6 separate regions of the Homo sapiens genome follow, and all the other regions are linked to region 3. The links are contacts of gene promoters, found by promoter capture Hi-C in human tissues and cell types (Jung and others, 2019). All regions are on one chromosome and are shown on one strand. The core of a region is centred on a gene start or on the middle of the fragment in contact, and the rest is flanking DNA. Distances in the headings are between cores, read along the strand shown. Region 1 holds the start of ZNF280B (zinc finger protein 280B). Region 2 holds the start of CHCHD10 (coiled-coil-helix-coiled-coil-helix domain containing 10). Region 3 holds the start of RAB36 (RAB36, member RAS oncogene family). Region 4 holds the start of ZNF70 (zinc finger protein 70). Region 5 holds the start of SMARCB1 (SWI/SNF related BAF chromatin remodeling complex subunit B1). Region 6 has its middle 12 kb from the start of LL22NC03-63E9.3.

The links. The method cuts DNA at HindIII sites, captures the fragments that hold promoters and counts their contacts. A contact is called where the count stands out against the background at its distance.
Region 1: the fragment with the promoter of ZNF280B here is called in contact with the fragment with the promoter of RAB36 in region 3 in 5 of the 25 tissues and cell types used here (H1 embryonic stem cells, dorsolateral prefrontal cortex, heart left ventricle and 2 more).
Region 2: the fragment with the promoter of CHCHD10 here is called in contact with the fragment with the promoter of RAB36 in region 3 in 2 of the 25 tissues and cell types used here (adrenal gland and dorsolateral prefrontal cortex).
Region 4: the fragment with the promoter of ZNF70 here is called in contact with the fragment with the promoter of RAB36 in region 3 in 4 of the 25 tissues and cell types used here (dorsolateral prefrontal cortex, lymphoblastoid cells, spleen and 1 more).
Region 5: the fragment with the promoter of SMARCB1 here is called in contact with the fragment with the promoter of RAB36 in region 3 in 6 of the 25 tissues and cell types used here (H1 embryonic stem cells, dorsolateral prefrontal cortex, heart left ventricle and 3 more).
Region 6: a contact is called between a fragment that was not itself captured here and the fragment with the promoter of RAB36 in region 3, in 3 of the 25 tissues and cell types used here (H1 embryonic stem cells, dorsolateral prefrontal cortex and lymphoblastoid cells).

Annotation. Positions count from the first base shown.
Region 1 is chr22:22,507,188-22,510,008 of GRCh38, forward strand. It overlaps ZNF280B (zinc finger protein 280B), which reads right to left and starts at 1,555. Exons shown (of 4, transcript NM_080764.4): 1 at 1,472-1,555; 2 at 623-683. It also overlaps IGL. The HindIII fragment of the contact is 18,670 bases long and covers 1-2,821 here.
Region 2 is chr22:23,766,609-23,769,508 of GRCh38, forward strand. It overlaps CHCHD10 (coiled-coil-helix-coiled-coil-helix domain containing 10), which reads right to left and starts at 1,364. Exons shown (of 4, transcript NM_213720.3): 1 at 1,226-1,364; 2 at 766-985. The coding sequence starts at 1,266. It overlaps LOC107985577 (a long non-coding RNA gene), which reads left to right and starts at 1,618. Exons shown (of 3, transcript XR_007068022.1): 1 at 1,618-2,185. RefSeq lists an enhancer at 1-501. The HindIII fragment of the contact is 13,382 bases long and covers 1-2,900 here.
Region 3 is chr22:23,144,150-23,146,976 of GRCh38, forward strand. It overlaps RAB36 (RAB36, member RAS oncogene family), which reads left to right and starts at 1,328. Exons shown (of 11, transcript NM_004914.5): 1 at 1,328-1,402; 2 at 2,456-2,536. The coding sequence starts at 2,468. It also overlaps a transcript of RSPH14 not described here. RefSeq lists a silencer at 1,081-1,150. The HindIII fragment of the contact is 15,551 bases long and covers 1-2,827 here.
Region 4 is chr22:23,749,678-23,752,385 of GRCh38, forward strand. ZNF70 (zinc finger protein 70) reads right to left here and starts at 1,435. Exons shown (of 2, transcript NM_021916.4): 1 at 1,034-1,435. RefSeq lists a silencer at 1,151-1,600 and enhancers at 1,193-1,868, 1,751-1,810, 2,651-2,708. The HindIII fragment of the contact is 11,413 bases long and covers 1-2,708 here.
Region 5 is chr22:23,785,541-23,788,440 of GRCh38, forward strand. It overlaps SMARCB1 (SWI/SNF related BAF chromatin remodeling complex subunit B1), which reads left to right and starts at 1,426. Exons shown (of 9, transcript NM_003073.5): 1 at 1,426-1,722. The coding sequence starts at 1,630. The HindIII fragment of the contact is 20,978 bases long and covers 1-2,900 here.
Region 6 is chr22:22,570,135-22,572,834 of GRCh38, forward strand. It overlaps IGL. Among named protein-coding and RNA genes, the nearest start is that of LL22NC03-63E9.3, 12 kb to the left of the region's middle. The HindIII fragment of the contact is 4,847 bases long and covers 1-2,700 here.

The DNA.
Region 1 (2,821 bases), core at 305-2,804, 640 kb before region 3:
GAGACTGACAATCCAGCCAAGGGTTTCACTGAAACCTCATGAGTGACCTTGAGCCAGAAACAGCCAGCTAAGCCACTCTTGGATTCCAGACCTTCAAAAACTATGAGGTAATAAATTTTTTTTTAAACTACTAAGTTTTGAGACAATTTGTTACACGGCAATAGATAACTAATACAATGGGTCTCACTGAGCTGTAATCACAAATTGCTGGGCACACAATTCACTATAATCTCACCTACTGGCATGCAATGACTTCAGATGACCTCCCCTGTCCTGCTGCATGCAGTTACCTCATGAAATACAGTCGCTGAGAAAGAGGGTAGGATAAAAGGAGTCAGCTTTATATAACTTAACATCCCTGATGCTCTTTTTTTTTTTTTCAAGAGATGTGGTAAAAGAATGCCACTACCACCCTCTCCTTTCTCAACAAAGCAATTTAGAGGGTTCCCGAATGACCTACATCAACAATTGGCCTGAACTAATCAAACACATCATTCAGATTCCCTCAGTAAAATATTGAATACCAAACAGCTATGTTTCAGCAAAGGAAAGGGCAGGGGAGCGAAACTGAAGGACGAAAATACAACTTTGGTCCTCATCAGGGAGACTTCTCTTTTCTTACCTCAGGTTTATTACAACGCAACTTTTAAGAACTTGAGCTATTCCAGGCAGAAGGTCACATCCTTGAGGTAACCAGAGAGAAGCATTAGTTACTTACATGTCACAAGAATATTTTCGATCCCACTGCCTGACATTGCCATTTAGGTGTTTATCAATCATCTCACACTTAACCAGATAAGTGAACTGAACTCCTTTCCCCCAGATCTGTTCCTCCAATCTACCCTACCTTAGCAAAGGAAAACGTCCCACCCGCCAACTGCCCAAATCAAAAGCCTGCAAATCACCCGAGGTCCTGGCTCTCACGGGAGGGACTCCATTAGGGTCCCAGGGGCTGCATTAAGAGTCCCGACAGCGACGCAGTAAATGAGACAAGACGCTGCGGTAGGGGAGAGAGACCCATACATTCAAATGCCTTAAGGGGTCTGGGCCTACAGGTCTCCAGAACTGGGGAGGGCCTGGGGTTACAAAGCAGTTTTCAGATTTTTAAATACATTGAGCGCCAAAAGAGACCCCGCGGGGGCGATGGGGGAGGGGAGCGCACTGGGAGCCAGGAAAGGCCCCTTCTCCAGGAGGCCCGGGCCCAGCCCGGGGGTGGGGGCGTCTGCGTGAGGGAGTGGAGGCTGATGTAAAAGTGGCGCCCGCTGAGATTAGGGAAGGGGGTGTGCGTGAGGGGATCGTGGGACCTGCTTCTGCCCTGCACTCCCCCACAGAAAGCGGCTGTATTGCAAAGGCCGCTCCGGCAGCGCACGGCCAAGCGCGGTGTCGCGACCCGCAGGGCTGCGGCTCGCCATGAAATCCCTCAAGTCTCCCCTCAGGGAACGCTGAAGCCGCGCCACGCCCCCGTCCTTACCAGTCCGGATCAGCTGCTGTTCGCGAGCTGCCGGCCACGCACCAGCCCCGGAGGCGCTCCCGGGGCACAGCCGGCGGCGACTACGCCTCCTCAGGCCCCCGGCGCCGCCGACGCGCACGCCTCCACACGCGCGCGTCCAGTGGAGACCTGCGATTGGCTGCCAGGTGCCGGCGCGAGATCGGCGCGGCTCCGAGCTAGGAGCATGCGCGCGCTCTGACGCCCCTGGTGGCGACGGCTGGACGCGGGGTTAAATTGAGAAGGAGGAGGGCAGCAGCAATACCCCTGAGGCCTTGAAAGGATCTTGGGTTCCGGATCACGGTTCCAGGCAGTCAGGGTTCCAGAGCTGAGGGGGTATCCAAGCAGTCAGGGTTCCAGAGCTGAGGAGCATCCAGGCAGTCAGGGTTCCAGAGCTGAGGGGCACCCAGGCAGTCAGGGTTCCAGAGCTGTCGCAGCCAGGGCTTGGGGTGGGGGGTAGGCTTCCAGTCCATCAGGGGATGGTTTGCCCACCAGAAGGCCAGCTGTTATAATTCTCAGGTGTGGTCCCTTTGTTGACTATCCATGCTTAAGGGATTGTGAGGAAACAACTGAACCTAACATCTGTCCTCTTCTAGTTACATCTGGGGCCAGTTGAATCCAGCCTGCCACCTGTTTTTGTACAGCTGGCAGCAAGCTAAGAACCGATTTCACGTTTTTTTAATGGCTAAAAAGAGAATATTTTGTGGCATGTGAAAATTATATGAAATTCAAAATTCAGTGTCCATAAATAAAGTTTTATTGGAACAACAAACATGCCCATTCCTTTCGGTATTATTTATGCCTGTTTTCCTGCTTCAACAGCAAAGTTGATTAATTGCCAGAGACCATGTATGAAAAGCTTAAAATATTTACTGTCTGGCCCTTTACAGAAAGTTTGCCCACTCAGTTTACTTGCAGCTTTGATTTTTTTTTTGAATTGACCAATTCTGCCAAAAGTCTATTTTAGCAATCTTTTTGGGGGGCGGGTAAATCGCTTTTGGTTTAATTAATCTATAATGTTATTTTCTTATCTATTTTATCTATTTCTTCCATTCTGTTATTTTCTTCCTTCGTGACTTCATAGGCTTGTTCTGTTACTTCTCATTACAACTTTTGGAGAAAAATGCCTACCTCGTTTGCTTGTAAACTTTTTTGTTTCTCTTGTATTTAATGCTATAAATTTACCTTTAAGTACCAGTTTAACTGTGTCTCACCAGTCCGCTTGGTAATATGTTCATTATCCTTCAATTAGATATGTCCTAATTTTGCTAGTTGTTAGAAATGCTTGTTCCCTGGTGCCGCAAAGAAATAGCACTTGAACATAAATTTAATTTT
Region 2 (2,900 bases), core at 114-2,613, 620 kb after region 3:
TGCCCAACAAATTTTTTGTATTTTTAGTAGAGAGGGGGTTTCACTATGTTGGCCAGGCTGGTATCGAACTCCTGAACTCATGATCCACCCGCCTTGGCCTCCCAAAGTGCTGGGATTACAGGCATGAGCCACTGCGCCTGGCCTCTGCTGCCTTCTAATGGGCACTTTGGGCGGGTGCAGGAGAGGGAGGAGAAGGCTCTAGGAAAGCCCAGTACTCTGCCTGTACTCTCAGAGTATGAGCCCCACCCCCACAAGTTCTAGCACCTTCCTGGCTCAGCTACACTAATCCTCATGACCCCTGACCTAGCCACAAAGCCACATTTGGCTTACGGCGGTGGGGTTCCTAGCAGGGGAAAGGTCATCAGGGAAGTGGCTCCCCTTCGCCCTTGCGCCCAGCGGCCACAGTGCCCAGACCTGGGTGTGGGGAGAACAGGGGCTCAGGAAATCCAACATCCCTCCCCTCTGCTAGGGTGAGGTGACCTTGGGCGAGTCTCTGAGCCCTCAGGGCCTGGGTTTCCCATCTTTAAAGGGCTGGTTGGTGTCTCTCCCTGGGAGCTTAGGGACCCTGGCCTCAAGGGAGAGGCCGGGAAGCCTGCCTCTAAGTGACAGTGAACTCAAGACCAGTGGACTAGGACCCTTCCCGGGCAGAGTCCTGGGCTGAAGCAATGGTGAATACACGCGGACACTCCTCACTGGACACTTGGGCAGCTCCCTGTGTGGCCTCGAGATAATCCTGCCTCAGTTTCTCTTGGACTCGCTGCTCACCTGCTGGACAGCAGGCTGGGAGGGCTCCGAGCTCCCCCCGCTGAAGGCTCCGGTCAGGGCGCTGCCCATGACGTGTCCCACAGCCGAGCCCACGGCTACCCCTGCGGCCGTGGTCGCCATCTGAGCCATGAGCCCCGGCTGGCCCGAAGGGGCGGGGGCTGGGGCGGCTGCCGAGGGCGGTGGGTGCGCGGGCGGGTGGGCAGAGGGCGCGGCTGGGCGGCTGCGGGGGTGGGAGGAAGCAGGGTTAATCCTGGCCAGACCCCAGGCTGGAGGGCTGCAGCTCCTGGAAACGACCCCCGGAGAGATGGACGACCCACGTCTCCACACGTGGGTGCTGCACCCCCACCCCTCCCCCCGCCAAGATGGCGCAGCAGCAGCCAAGGTCACTCTGCGGACGCCCTTAGGGGAGTGCCCACACTTCCCTAACCCCCTCCCCACAGGGCCCTTGTCCCCCTCACACCTGGCTGGCCGGGAGGCCGCGCTGCGGCTTCCCCGAGGCATGGTGGCGGCGGTGGGACCCGGGCGACCTTAGAGACGGCGGCAGCGGTGCTGTCGCGGGGACAAATGCCGCAGCGCTTGTCACAGCCGGCGCAAAAAAGGCGGGGCCCCGGGCGGGGCCTCAGGAACACGCCCCCAGCGGGAGGCGGCACTGCCCCCAACCCTATCCCCCTTCTCCCGTCCTCCGGACATCTCCCTTCCAGCAGCTCCGGGTCTCGGCTGGAAATGGGACCCTGCTCCCTCCCTGCGCCTGGCAGGCTGTGCGGGTTCTGGGGACAGGGGCCAGTGTCGCAAAGCGCCGAGGGCTTAAGGAGGGCGACAGTGCCTTCTGTTAGGACCACCGCAGAGGGCAGGGAGCGGAGTTGGGGGTTGTTGCGAGCCCTGGAGGGGAGAGGAGACGGGGAGGCGACGGGATGGGGCCAGCTGGGAAGGGGACGCGAGGCTCCAGGCTGGACTCCGCTCTCTGCCCCCTCCCGGACTCGGCTGTCTGTCCCCTCCCTCCAGACAGGGTCTGCTGACCACCGCGTGGCCTGGGAGTCTCCGGTGGCCTAGGGAAGTGAAGCGCGGCCCTGGGGAAGGCCTGGAGCAACCCATCCCCAGAACTCCCACGAGGGGGCGTCCCAACCCGTCTTCGACTGTTGGCCAAAATGCGCTGCCAATGCTGGCAGCCTTACGCAGTGCCCGCGGGGGATATGAGGCCCCCCGCGCGGCCCTGAACCCCACCGGATTCCCCGGGCCGGCCCGACCGCCCCCACCTAGTCCCTGGCCCCGCGAGTGCAACCCCCGACACTAACGGCCTTTACGCGACATCCGAGCAGCGTGTCTATCCCAAAGGCCTAGGAGCATTTGCCCGGCTCGGTCAAATCTAGCGCAAGTTTGAAGCCTGCGGCCTCGCAATTTTAGCAGCTTCGTTCCAGGCCAGGTGAGCTGGAGCGCGGATTTAGAATGCTTTCCTGCTCTTCGAGAACTTGAGGTTTTAATTTTACTTTTTACTTTTTTTTTTTTGACACGGAGCCTTGCTCTGTCGCCCAGGTTGGAGTGCAGTGGCGATCTCGGCTCACTGCAACCTCCACCTCCCGGATTCAAGCAATTCTCCTGCCTCAGCCTCCTGAGTAGCTGGGACTACAGGCTCGTGCCACCACACCTGGCTAATTTTTGTATTTTTAGTAGAGACGGGGTTTCACCATGTTGGCCAAACTGGTCTCCAACTCCTGAGCTCATGATCCTCCTACCTCAGCCTCCCAAAGTGCTGGGATTACAAGCATGAGCCATCGCGCCCGGCTGAGCTTGAGGTTTTTATGGTCTTTTCTGGGTGACTTTGCAGTGGTCATATTATTACTCCTAGGTGGGGGAAGGTAGGGACTGTCCCTCATCACTGCTGTGCCTGCAGAGGACTCCTGACACCGGGATTGTCGGCAGGGTGCAACCAAGAGCAAAAGCACCCAGAAGTGGGGGTGTGGGTCACCAAGTAAGAGAGGAGGCCCCTCCATAAGGAAGGAGCAGGTCAAGGGGCAAGGGGAGTGGTGGCTGGGGCGTTTGGCCCTGCCTGGCATGCTCAATTCTGTGTGTGCACAGCTGTCCCCAGCCATGCATGCTCTCCATGGAAGTCAGGTGCAGCCCTGTGTTCTCTCACACTG
Region 3 (2,827 bases), core at 78-2,577:
TAGCTCCTGCCAAATCCCCAAATCCAAATTAGTAAGTGACCCCACAGCTTAATCTTCCCTTCTCCTAAATCCCATTGGCACACTCCCTTCCCCTAATTCTCTATTTACTTCTCTGCTTCCCGCAGTGGACTCCAATTTCCCTGAGGGTGGACACCATGTCCGTTCTCTTTCCTTGTCTCCCCAGTGCTAGGCATATACCAGGAAGCTTTCAGTACATGTAGGACAAATGAATAGTTAATGGACTTGAATCAAGCTTTACAGTATAAAAGCACTTTCACCATCTCAGGTGATCCATTGAAATAGATAGTTGCGTTTATTTTATAGTTGAGTAAACTGAGGTGCGGAAGGTGGAACAACTCACCTAAGTTCACCCCCTAAGCCTCAACCTTAGCAGTGAAACTCACTAAAAGACATTAAACAGAGCCAGGTGTGGTGGCCCTTGCCTGTAGTCCCAAGGACTGGGGAGGCTGAGGCGGGAGGATTCCTTGAGCCTAGGAGTTCGAGTCCAGCCTGGACAACATAGCAAGACTCCATCTCTTTAAAAAAAAAAAAAAAAGACATCAAACACCAGCCTCCAGCACACTTAGCTTTGAATTGAAGATGACTGAGTTAGATCTGTGTACCAAGGCTTCCATATTGTGATGCAGAAAAGTTAAGGAGCTGAATTAAGTAGGTTCTCAAACTGAACCCCGGACTTCGAAGCTGGTTCCACGGTTTTATAAGGGCCACAAGAGGCCATCTAGCCCAAAACAGCTAACTTTCCAAACCGAAACTAGTTCAGAGGAAATCACTGACTCAGGTCAGCTTTTTATTAAGGAAATTAATTTTGTACCGTGAGCTCTAGAAGCCAGGCATATGATATTCAGACAGCACTGGATTCAGAACTATGCAGACTAAGGTCAGTAGATGGTAGGCAGGTCTATCTTCTGCAGCTGCAGGGTGCTTGACTCCAATTAAACATCAATACCACATCAGGAGCTCTTATGCCATAACCGCCCAACCTCTCCCAGCCGAGCTGATCACCAGAACCTGCGCGAATCTCTCCACGGTCAGCCCCACCCAGGGCTCAGGCTCCGCCCCCGGGCCTCCATAGCCCCGCCCACCGCCCACCCATCCAGCACCGCCCTTGTTGTCATGGTGATCTCCGGCTCTCCAGGGTGTCCAGGAGTCTCTCTGCTGCCAGCCCCGCCCAGACTCCAGGCAGGTTCTCGTTGCTATGGTGATCGCCGGTGCAAGCTGGATGCTTGGACGCGCCGCTGCCAGTCCAACGCAGACCCCGCCCACGACGTCGACGATTCGTGTAGCCCGCAGGTCCCGCGTGGCTCTCGTTGCCATGGTGATCGCCGCCGCTGGCTCAGGCGGACCAGGCCGCGCGGAGCCCCAGCTTTCACAGCCATCGCTGGTGAGTCAGCTCGCCCACTCTGTCCGACCCTCCCGGTCACCCAACCCCGTGCTGGCACATCCCGAGGCCAGGGCCGCGAGGGCACAGCGTCCGCGCCCACTTCCCGCCCCTATAACTTGAAAGCGGCCTGCGGCCCCGGGGCGTCCTCATTTCCGGAGCGCAAACTCTGGGCCAGGCCCGCGCTGGTTGTGGAGGAGAGCCAGGTCAGATGCGGGAAGACAACCGGACTCCGCCAGGACCACCCCAGCCCAGCCTGGAGAGGAGTCCGGACAGAAAAAGGAGACAGAGGGGCTGTTGAGGAGGCTCGAGGAGTCAGAGGCCTGGTGAAGTGAGGGTTTTCAGGGAAAAGGCCTAGTTGGCTGAAAGTTAAGGCCCCCAGGCCCACCTAGAGCCTTCGTCCTTTGCAGACTGGGAGCAGGAGACCCCTCCCCACTCTACTTCCACTGCCTGAGCTGTGCCATGCCTCACAGCCCAGTAAGGTAAGCTCAGAGGGGAGCTCCTCCTTGGTAGACACCTGTCAAGGGGAGACCCAGGTCTTCTGACTCCCAGGCAGGGTGGGGCAGGCCTGGTTCCCCCATACCATGCTGCCTGCTGTATGCAGATTGAGAGAAATGGCCTCTGCCCCATATTCCTGACAGAGAGGGAAGCCTGGATCTGGTTTTATTTATAATTCTTGAGACAAGGTCTTACTCTATCACCCAGGCTGGAGTGCAGTGGCACCTTCACGGTTCACTGCACCCTTGACCTCCCAGGCTCAAGCATTCCTCCCACCTTCCTCCCAAGTAGCTGGGACTGCAGGCACAGGCCACCATGCCCTGCTAATTTTTTTGGTTTTTTTTTGTAGAGACTGAGGTTTCACTTTGTTGCCCAGGCTGGTCTCAACCTCCTGGGCCCAAGTGATCCTCCCACCTTGGCCTCCCAAAGTGCTGGGATTACAGGCATGAGCCACTGCACCCAGCCTGGATCTGATGAAAAGTTAGGTGGAAACTCATGGGTGAATCCCCAGGTATTTGCACAGCTCCTTAACTGTCTTTCTCCTGGTTGGGTCCACAGGACTGTGGAAGAATGAGGTCCTCCCTGACACCTTTGGGGCCCCCTGTGAGCCGCGACCGTGTCATCGCCAGCTTCCCTAAGGTAGAGAGTCATTACGTCTGCAGTGCTCTCCTGGCCCTGCAGCCACATCAGCTCTCCCCACTCTACACTCATGCCTAGAAGTAAAGCAGGTGAATCAAGGAGGTCTGTCCATTGTCAGATTTACCTTGAGGAGCTGGGAGACTGGTCACTGACTGCCCAAGGTGGGACCGCAAGTTAATGGTGACACTGGGCAGCAGTGTGGCCTGGAGGTTATAAGGGCTGGGATTTTGCAGCCAGACAGTCCTTGATGTGAATCCTTCATTCTGATTCTGTCATTAAGCTGTGTGGCTG
Region 4 (2,708 bases), core at 185-2,684, 610 kb after region 3:
CCCATTTTGGCCTCCGAAAGTGCTGGTATTATAGGCGTGAGCCCCCTCGCCCAGCCCTAAAGTATTTTCAAAAATTCTTTGATCACTTCAACTCCTCTCACCCTCCCCCTCCTCTTCAGCAACCCATAATCTCCAACTCTTCCAGCTCTCTCACTCAATTTGTGCTTTTCGACCTCATGAAATCCAAGCCATTTTTACTGTAGTTCTCCTTTTCTAGCTCCACCCCTTCTCCATCCAGCTTAGACTCTCCATACTATGCGCATCACTTCAACTCTCACGCTCTAGCACCATGCTCCTCACCTCCTCGTCCGGCTGCAACTAGCCGCTAAGTCCCAGTCTTCTCGGCCAGTTCCTCCTAAGTTGTTAAATGTTGCCAAGAAAAATCATACAACTATGTATGGCACCACGACAAATTTCGAGTTTCCGATTTCAGCTGGGACCTCAGCTCTGGCATTCTATGACCTCCTTATTGCCAATCCCTCTCTTCTCGGTCTTCACCTTCCCACCCCATCTGGCACTGCTCTCCAATACCTCCTTCTCAAAACCCTTCATTTCAGAGGTTGCAAATTGGCAGCCTGAAGATCCTGCTATGTTATGTTTGGCTCTCGAAGAGTTTGGCTTTTCCTGTTCATTTTCCTTAGTTACCAATATTTAAAACTCAGTAGGTTTCTGGCTTTCTCTTGAAAAACGAAGATGTGACAATATCCCTTCACCCGCCCACATTGCCTACCTAGGTGCATGAAAGCTTTGAGCTACCCCCCAACCCCATCCCCACCCTCGCTTTCTTCCCAATTTTCATGGCTTCCAAGTTCTCTTTCTTGATATCTTTAGATTGCAACTCTTCCTCCGCCCACCCATTAAGTCCTGGTGTTCTCAAACTTCCCTCCGTAGAGGTTTTCCATTCCCACTATATAGCCCCTACACCCTGAAGTCTCCACTCAGAAAAAAGTTGGCAACCCTTTATCTGTCTCCCACAACATGATAAGTGTTTTTGGACCGAAAATGCAAAGATCTGGAACTCCATGCTTCCCACCTCTGTCGGGGCCTTCTCCGGGTCCTCCTGCATCTGTCATCCCATCCTCCAGAGAGTCCCTAGGGCCTGGGCACCCTGCAAACTCTTAGTGCAGTCAAGGTTTCCTGGCTGGGGGCCCAAGAGTTGCCACGGACCCGCACACGCTGCCCAGGCGGCGACGTGGCGCCCCTACAGGCTTCCCCGCGATTGGGGACACGCACACCCAGGGCCACCGGAGGGACAGGTGGTCAGGCGGACTCAGGTCACACCGGCGGACGCGGGGCCACTCACCTGGGCCGGGGCGGGGCAGCTCACCTGGGCCGGGGCGGGGCCGCAGGCGGGCGGGGCGGGGCCGCACCTGAGCTGCTCCAACCCGCGGCCGACGCGGCCGACGCTGCCTGGCTCCACAGCAGCTGCTGACGCGGAGCCCGCGGCCGCCCGAGCACCCAGAGCCCCGCCCCCGGCCCGCGGGCACTTCCGGGACCACTCTAGGCCGCGCGGAGGTCCCGGCGTCTCGGTGGTCCCACCGCGCCGGTTGTCGCCGCGCGAAGCCGCCCGGGCCCCGGGACACAAGGACCCGAATCAGGAGAGTCTCTCCAGTCGGCATGGTGGCTCTGGCCGTCCCCGAAGCGCGTGCTGGACGTGGGGGAAACAGAGATGGGCAGGCGTTGGCAGGAGAGCAGAGGAGGAAACAGGTCCGGACGGGCGGGCCGACCTCGAGCCGCCGGCACTCGGGGCATCTGCGCTGGTGCTGGGTGCAAGCCAGAAGCCACTGAGGCAGCTGGGGTCTTCAGGGAAAGGAGAGTGGAGCCCCAGAGCTGTCGACCCTGTCACTGTCCACAGGCACCGGGGTCCTGTTAGGATCCCCCTCCCCCAACCTGCTTCAAGGGTAGCCCTGTTCCTGTCTGCCCTCCCCGCCCCCACAGAAATAGAGATGAGAAGGGGCAGGCGAAGAACTAGGAGTGTCTGCGAGACCATCCCAGGACCCTGAGCCCCCCAACTCTCTGCATCCCAGGGCTGACTTCGACATGAAGCGCCTCCTCTCAGGCGCACCGGGAGGGAAGAGGAATGTGTTCTTGAAATGGCCGCCCCCTTGGCCGGGCGCGGTGGCTCACGCCTTTAATCCCAGCATTTTGGGAGGCGGAGGCGGGTGGATCACGAGGTCAGGAGTTCGAGACTCAGCCAGACCAACATGGTGAAACCCTGTTTCTACTAAAAATTATCCGGGAGTGGTGACAAGCGCCTGTAATCCCAGCTACTGAGACAGGAGAATCGTTTGACCCTGAGAGGCGGAGGTTGCAGTGAGCCAAGATAGTGCCATTGCACTCCAGCCTGGGCGACAGAGCGAGACTCCATCTCAAAAAACAAAAAAAAAAAAAAGAAAAGGAATCTCCGCCCCCTCCTTGCTGCTGATGGCAAGACTGGCCCCTCCACCCAGTGTTCTGCCCATGACACCCCCCCCTCAGGTGCAGCTGCCCAGCTTGTGGGAGAGCTTCCCTCCGCAGACCTTGGCCCAATCACAGGACATCAGGAGAACACACTGTCCCTGGGAAAAAGGATTCTGCCCCAGCCGCCCACCTGCCTTCAGCACCCTCAGCCTTGGCGCTCGAGTGCCTCCAATGCTACCCACACACACCTGCCTTCCTGCCCCATTAATGCTCTGTCGGGCCTTGGGCACAGACTCCAAGGGGTAGGC
Region 5 (2,900 bases), core at 176-2,675, 640 kb after region 3:
ATACTGAGGGATGACTGTACTTTGGTTTCCCACCACTGTGAGGATACAGAACAAAGCAACTTCAGTCACTGCCCTTCCCAACTCTCCAGTGTCTCCTTGCCCTACCTTCCAGCCCCATGTGTGTCTTCGTAATAGCATAGTTGCATTTTTTTTTTTTTTAAGAGAGGCAGGGTCTCCCTTTGTTGCCCAGGCTGCAGTGCAGTGGTGCAATCAGCTCACTATAACCTTGAACTCCTGGGCTCAAGGGATCTTCCCCTCTCCACTTCCCAAGTAGCTGGGGCTACAGGTGCACACCGCCATGCCACACCCAGCTTATTTATTTTAGAATTTTTGTAGAGACAGGGTCTTGCTGTCTTGTCCAGTCTGGTCTCAAACTCCTGGCTTCAAGTGATCCTCCCTGCCTTGGCCTCCTAAAGAGTTGGGATTACAAGGCCGGGCGCAGTGGCTCACACCTGTAATCCCAGCACTTTGGGAGGCCGAGGGGGGCGGATCACGAGGTCAGGAGATCGAGACCATCCTGGCTAACATGGTGAAACCCTGTCTCTACTAAAAATACAAAAAATTAGCTGGGCGTGGTGGCGGGTGCCTGTAGTCCCAGCTACTTGGGAGGCTGAGGCAGGAGACTCCAGCCTCAAAAAAAAAAAAAAGAGTTGGGATTACAGGCATGAGCCGCTGAGCCCAGCCACAGCTGCAATTTCATTAGATTGAACGGTGTGAAATCATCAGTAGTGGGCCACTGTTTTACTCCCTGCATTATTCAATCATGATTGCTTTCAGACTTTCATTAGTTTCACTAGCTTCGCGCTGTAAGAGCCAAGAGGCAGAGCCACAGGGCTGGGCTGCCTGGTTTCACTCCCCACTGCAGGGCTCGGTTAAGCAGAGTGTAGGCTAAGAGAGGAATGGAGAAGGTGGAAGGTGTCTCTCCCTTCCAACGCTCATCTGATGCACCAGCCAAACCAAATACCACCTGGGCCTTTGAACATTGCCAAGCCTCATCCGCTGTTGTCATTTTGCCCACCTCCACAGCTGCAGGGACAGCCGTAGGCCCGGAACTGGGATATCTCTTCCTAGGGGCCTGCCTATCTGCTCAGCTGCACTGCGTTTTAGGGGTGGGGAAGCTAAGGCACGAGATTGGGGTCCCAAAGCATGCCCAGACCACCCAGGCTTCCAGATACTAGGTCCTCCTCCTTCAGGCCTCACTTCGTTGCTTTTCCCCTGGGCTCAGTTCCAGTCCTGGCTGTAAGACTGGGAAAGCCACTGCTTGAGTCAGGACCTCATTGGCTATTTTTGTCCGTGAGAAGTCCTCTACACCACGACTTGGGAGGCAGCCTGGGAGAAAGAGAAATTAGTCGTGGCTCCTTTAAGGGGTCCGCGGAGGCGCGCCCGGCCTTTTGTTTGAGCGGCGGCGCGCGCGTCAGCGTCAACGCCAGCGCCTGCGCACTGAGGGCGGCCTGGTCGTCGTCTGCGGCGGCGGCGGCGGCTGAGGAGCCCGGCTGAGGCGCCAGTACCCGGCCCGGTCCGCATTTCGCCTTCCGGCTTCGGTTTCCCTCGGCCCAGCACGCCCCGGCCCCGCCCCAGCCCTCCTGATCCCTCGCAGCCCGGCTCCGGCCGCCCGCCTCTGCCGCCGCAATGATGATGATGGCGCTGAGCAAGACCTTCGGGCAGAAGCCCGTGAAGTTCCAGCTGGAGGACGACGGCGAGTTCTACATGATCGGCTCCGAGGTAGCCCGGGGCGCGTTCTCGCCCTCCCCGGGCTCGGCCCCGCGGGAGCCCCGGGGCGGGCCCATGCGCCGAGAGCGCGCGTCTCCATTCATCGGGGCGGGCGGGCGCGCGCGCGCGCGCTCGGGGCTGTGGGGCGTGGCCTAGTGGGCGTGTCGGGTGTGGCCCCCGCCCCCTCATCGACCTGGGATTTCCTTACTTATTTCGCCGAGGTCCGCCGCCTTCAGTGCTGCCAAGATTTTGGCGCCGCGAGGGGCCCCAGTGGTTCCGCGCTGGGTTGGTTTCCAGTCAGACGCAAAGAAACGGGATATTGAGTTAGCCCCTGCGACGCTTGGGGGACTGCACTGCTGCCTTTGACCCTTTTTAGATGTCGTAAATTTCACGTGCACCCCTCCCCGTATTGCTACTTGTGGGAACCTCAAATGGCAGGCTGGAAACCCTGGACTTAGTGAGGGCTCATCCCCATTGTGTTTGTTGCCTCTTAGGTGAGCAGTGGAGGTCTTTTGACCTTTGTTTACCGGTGAAGAAACAGATTGGAGGAAGATGTTTGCTTTTGGGTGAATAAGGGCCCCATGCCTAAGCTAGATCTTTCAGCAGTTCTGAAGCGATTGACACTTTCCATATCTGTGAACTGATTCTGAATTATTACAGGGGAAAGAGCCTAAGGATGTTTAACCCTTAACTAGAGTGGCTGCATTTTGTTGCATCAACTGGATGACTGACTTCAGGAAAACTCTACTGGCCTTTGAATGGGTGTTTGTTCCAAGTCTATTAGGTTCTTGTTTTTTGTTTTTTATAGAGACAGGGTCTGGCTATGTTGCGCAGGCAGGTCTCCAACTCCTGGGCTCAAGCAGTCTGCCCGTCTGGGTCTCCCAAAGTGCTAGGATTACAGGCATGAGCCACCACACCCGGCCATATATTAGGTTTTTACAGATTGTCTCAAACTAGCCTTTTTTGCTCCAAAGGCAGTCCCCAGCTAGTATATGTTACCTTTTTAAAAAAATTATGGATATACAGTTCAGATGTACAAATGTCAAGCAGTAGAATCTCATGTAAGGAAGTAAGTGCCAATCCTGGAGAATTAAAGCTATCATGAAATGCCAAGAGTTTCTTCTCCTTATAGCAGTTTTTAGTATCATATTCCAGCATTTTATTCGTACTTTATTTTCTTTTATTTTTGA
Region 6 (2,700 bases), core at 183-2,682, 570 kb before region 3:
ATTTTCCCAGTCCACACTGATTTTGCTTAAAAGATAAAAGTTATTATAATAAGGTCTGTTCAGCAGTATCTCAGTTTTGACTTCTCATCCCTGAGGATAAGAATGTTGCTTTTCCTTCTAGCATAGGGAGGGACAGGGTTTTTCACATGGGACTTTTGTCTTCTGCTTTTAAGAAACAGAAAACAGCAGAATGATCTTTTTGCAACTGGTGTTTTCAAGTGCCTTTTACTTAAATAGTCAATTTGCTAGACCGGTACTTTTTTATTTCTTTTCTTTTTTTTTTTATTATACTTTAAGTTTTAGGGTACATGTGCACAACATGCAGGTTAGTTACATATGTATACATGTGCCATGTTGGTGTGCTGCACCCATCAACTCGTCATTTAACACCAGGTATATCTCCTAATGCTATCCCTCCCCCCTCCCCCCACAACAGGCCCCGGTGTGTGATGTTCCCCCACTGTGTCCATGTGTTCTCATTGTTCAATTCCCACCTATGAGTGAGAACATGCGGTGTTTGGTTTTTCGTCCTTGTGACAGTTTGCTGAGAATGATGGTTTCCAGCTTCATCCATGTCCCTACAAAGGACATGAACTCATCAATTTTTATGGCTGCATAGTGTTCCATGGTGTATATGTGCCACATTTTGTTAATCCATAGACTGGTACATTTTTAACTCCATCAGAGCGCAAGCCAAAAAGCTTCCTCCTGGGCTGAAAAAAAAAGCTTCCCCCTGGGCTGAAAAAAAGCTTCATCTTGGGCTGGAAAAGCTTTTTGGCTTGCACTCTTCCTCTGGGCCTGAGCCTTCCCTGCCCTCTCATCTGCTTGGACAGAGGGCAGGGAAGACTGAAGCCCAGAACTTAATCCTAAGTGTAGCAGACCATCGGGACCCTGACAGGGTAACAGTGGGGTACTGAGTCACGGGACGAGGCCATCTGGATTCACGCACCTGAAAATCTTGATGTCCTTGAATTTTCCAAACCTGCAGAAGTGGCCCTCCCTTACTCATTGAAACCCATGTCTCCCTTCCTTTTGCCTGAAGATGATGCAGAGACCTCTGACCTGTGAGATTGTATCCACCACCACAAGTGTCCCCAGAAATCTGCCACCACCTCCTATTAAGACCAATGGACCAATAACTAGAATTGAGTCCCAAAGAAACCTGGCAAGGAATGTGATAGACCTGCTGCAGAACTAAGGAGCTCCAGAACCAGCCAACACGTGCAGTGGGCCCCAGGCGAGTGTGTATGGGGCTGGATTCTGAGGGTGTAAGATCAAAGTGCAAAACCTAAGATTGGATTGGGGAGGGTTTATCTGCTGGAAGCACTCTCCTGGGACGCAGGCTTTAACCCCCTAGCAAAGACATTGAGGCATTCCGCAAGCCCGCCGCAAGGATTGCCCTTAGGAGGACAGAGAAAGCAATGGTCCGTACCAAGCAAGGTCATAATGCCAGATGTGCTGTGGCAGATGGTGGGAGAGGAATCAAAAGGTCCTGGGAGGCCAGGTGTGGTGGCTTATGCCTGTAATCCCGGCACCTTGGGAGGCCACTGTGGGAGAATGGCTTGAGGCTAGGAGATCAAGACCAGCCTGGGCAATATAGTGAGACCCTGTCTGTACAAAAGATTAAAAAAAATTAGTCAGGCATGGTGGCACACTCCTGTAGTCCCAGCTACTAGGGAGTCTGAGGTAGGAGGATTGCTTCAGCCTGGGGAGTTTAAGACTGTAGCCAGCTGTTCCAGCCTGGGCGACAGAGTGAGACCCTGAAAAAAAGAAAGAGAGAGAGAGAGAGAAAGAAAGAGAGAGATGGAGAGAAAGAAAGGAAGGAAGGGGAAGGGAAGGGAGGAAGGGAAGGAAGGAGAGAAAGAAAAAAGAAAAGAAAGAAAGAGAGAGGGAGAAAGAAAGGAAGGAAGGGAGAGAGAGAGGGAAAGAAGGAAAGAAAAGAAAAGAAAGAAAGAGAGAGAGAGAGAGAAGGGTTCTGAGAGTGCTTAGCTGGAAAGGCAATACCAGGTACTCATGGACATCTCCCCAAGTGAGAGAATTCTCAGGAGGGCCTGGGGACTGCAGTCTGTAATTGATTGATAAGCGGTGCACTGGTGAGAGAAATCCAGCATCCTTGAGAAACTCAGTGGGTAGTTCTCTAGACCAGGCCAGCAGGGGAAGCTGGTAAGGAAGTTGATAGCAATACGGATGGAAGGACCATGCAGTGATAGTGTCACATTGTCAGGGCTTAAGCATAGGAGCCAGGTGTGTGGCAAAAGATGAAGTGGCAGCAAGGCACCTGACATTGAATGATGGAGTCAGTCAGTATAGCATGGCACCTCTCGGGGCAAGATGCATAAGCCACCAAGAAAGGGACAGCTTCTAATCTTTTTAGCTTATTTTTTATTTTTTTGTTGAGATGGGGGGGTCTCACTAGGTTATCCAGAGTAGTCTCGAACTCCTGGCCTCAAGTGATCCTCCTGCCTCAGCCTCCCAAATTGCTGGGATTACAGGTATGAGCCATAGCTTCCGGCCTAGCTTTTAATCTATATTTTCAGAGGGAAGTAAGGAAGAAGGGTCAAACCCCATTAACAAGTTTCTGAAAGAGCCTAACTTGCAATGTCTAGTCATTCCAGAGTAGGATATTTACCCCAAGGATTAATTCACTGTAGTTGCTGTGATAAATGACCAAACCATAAACTGAGTGACTAAAAACAAAGA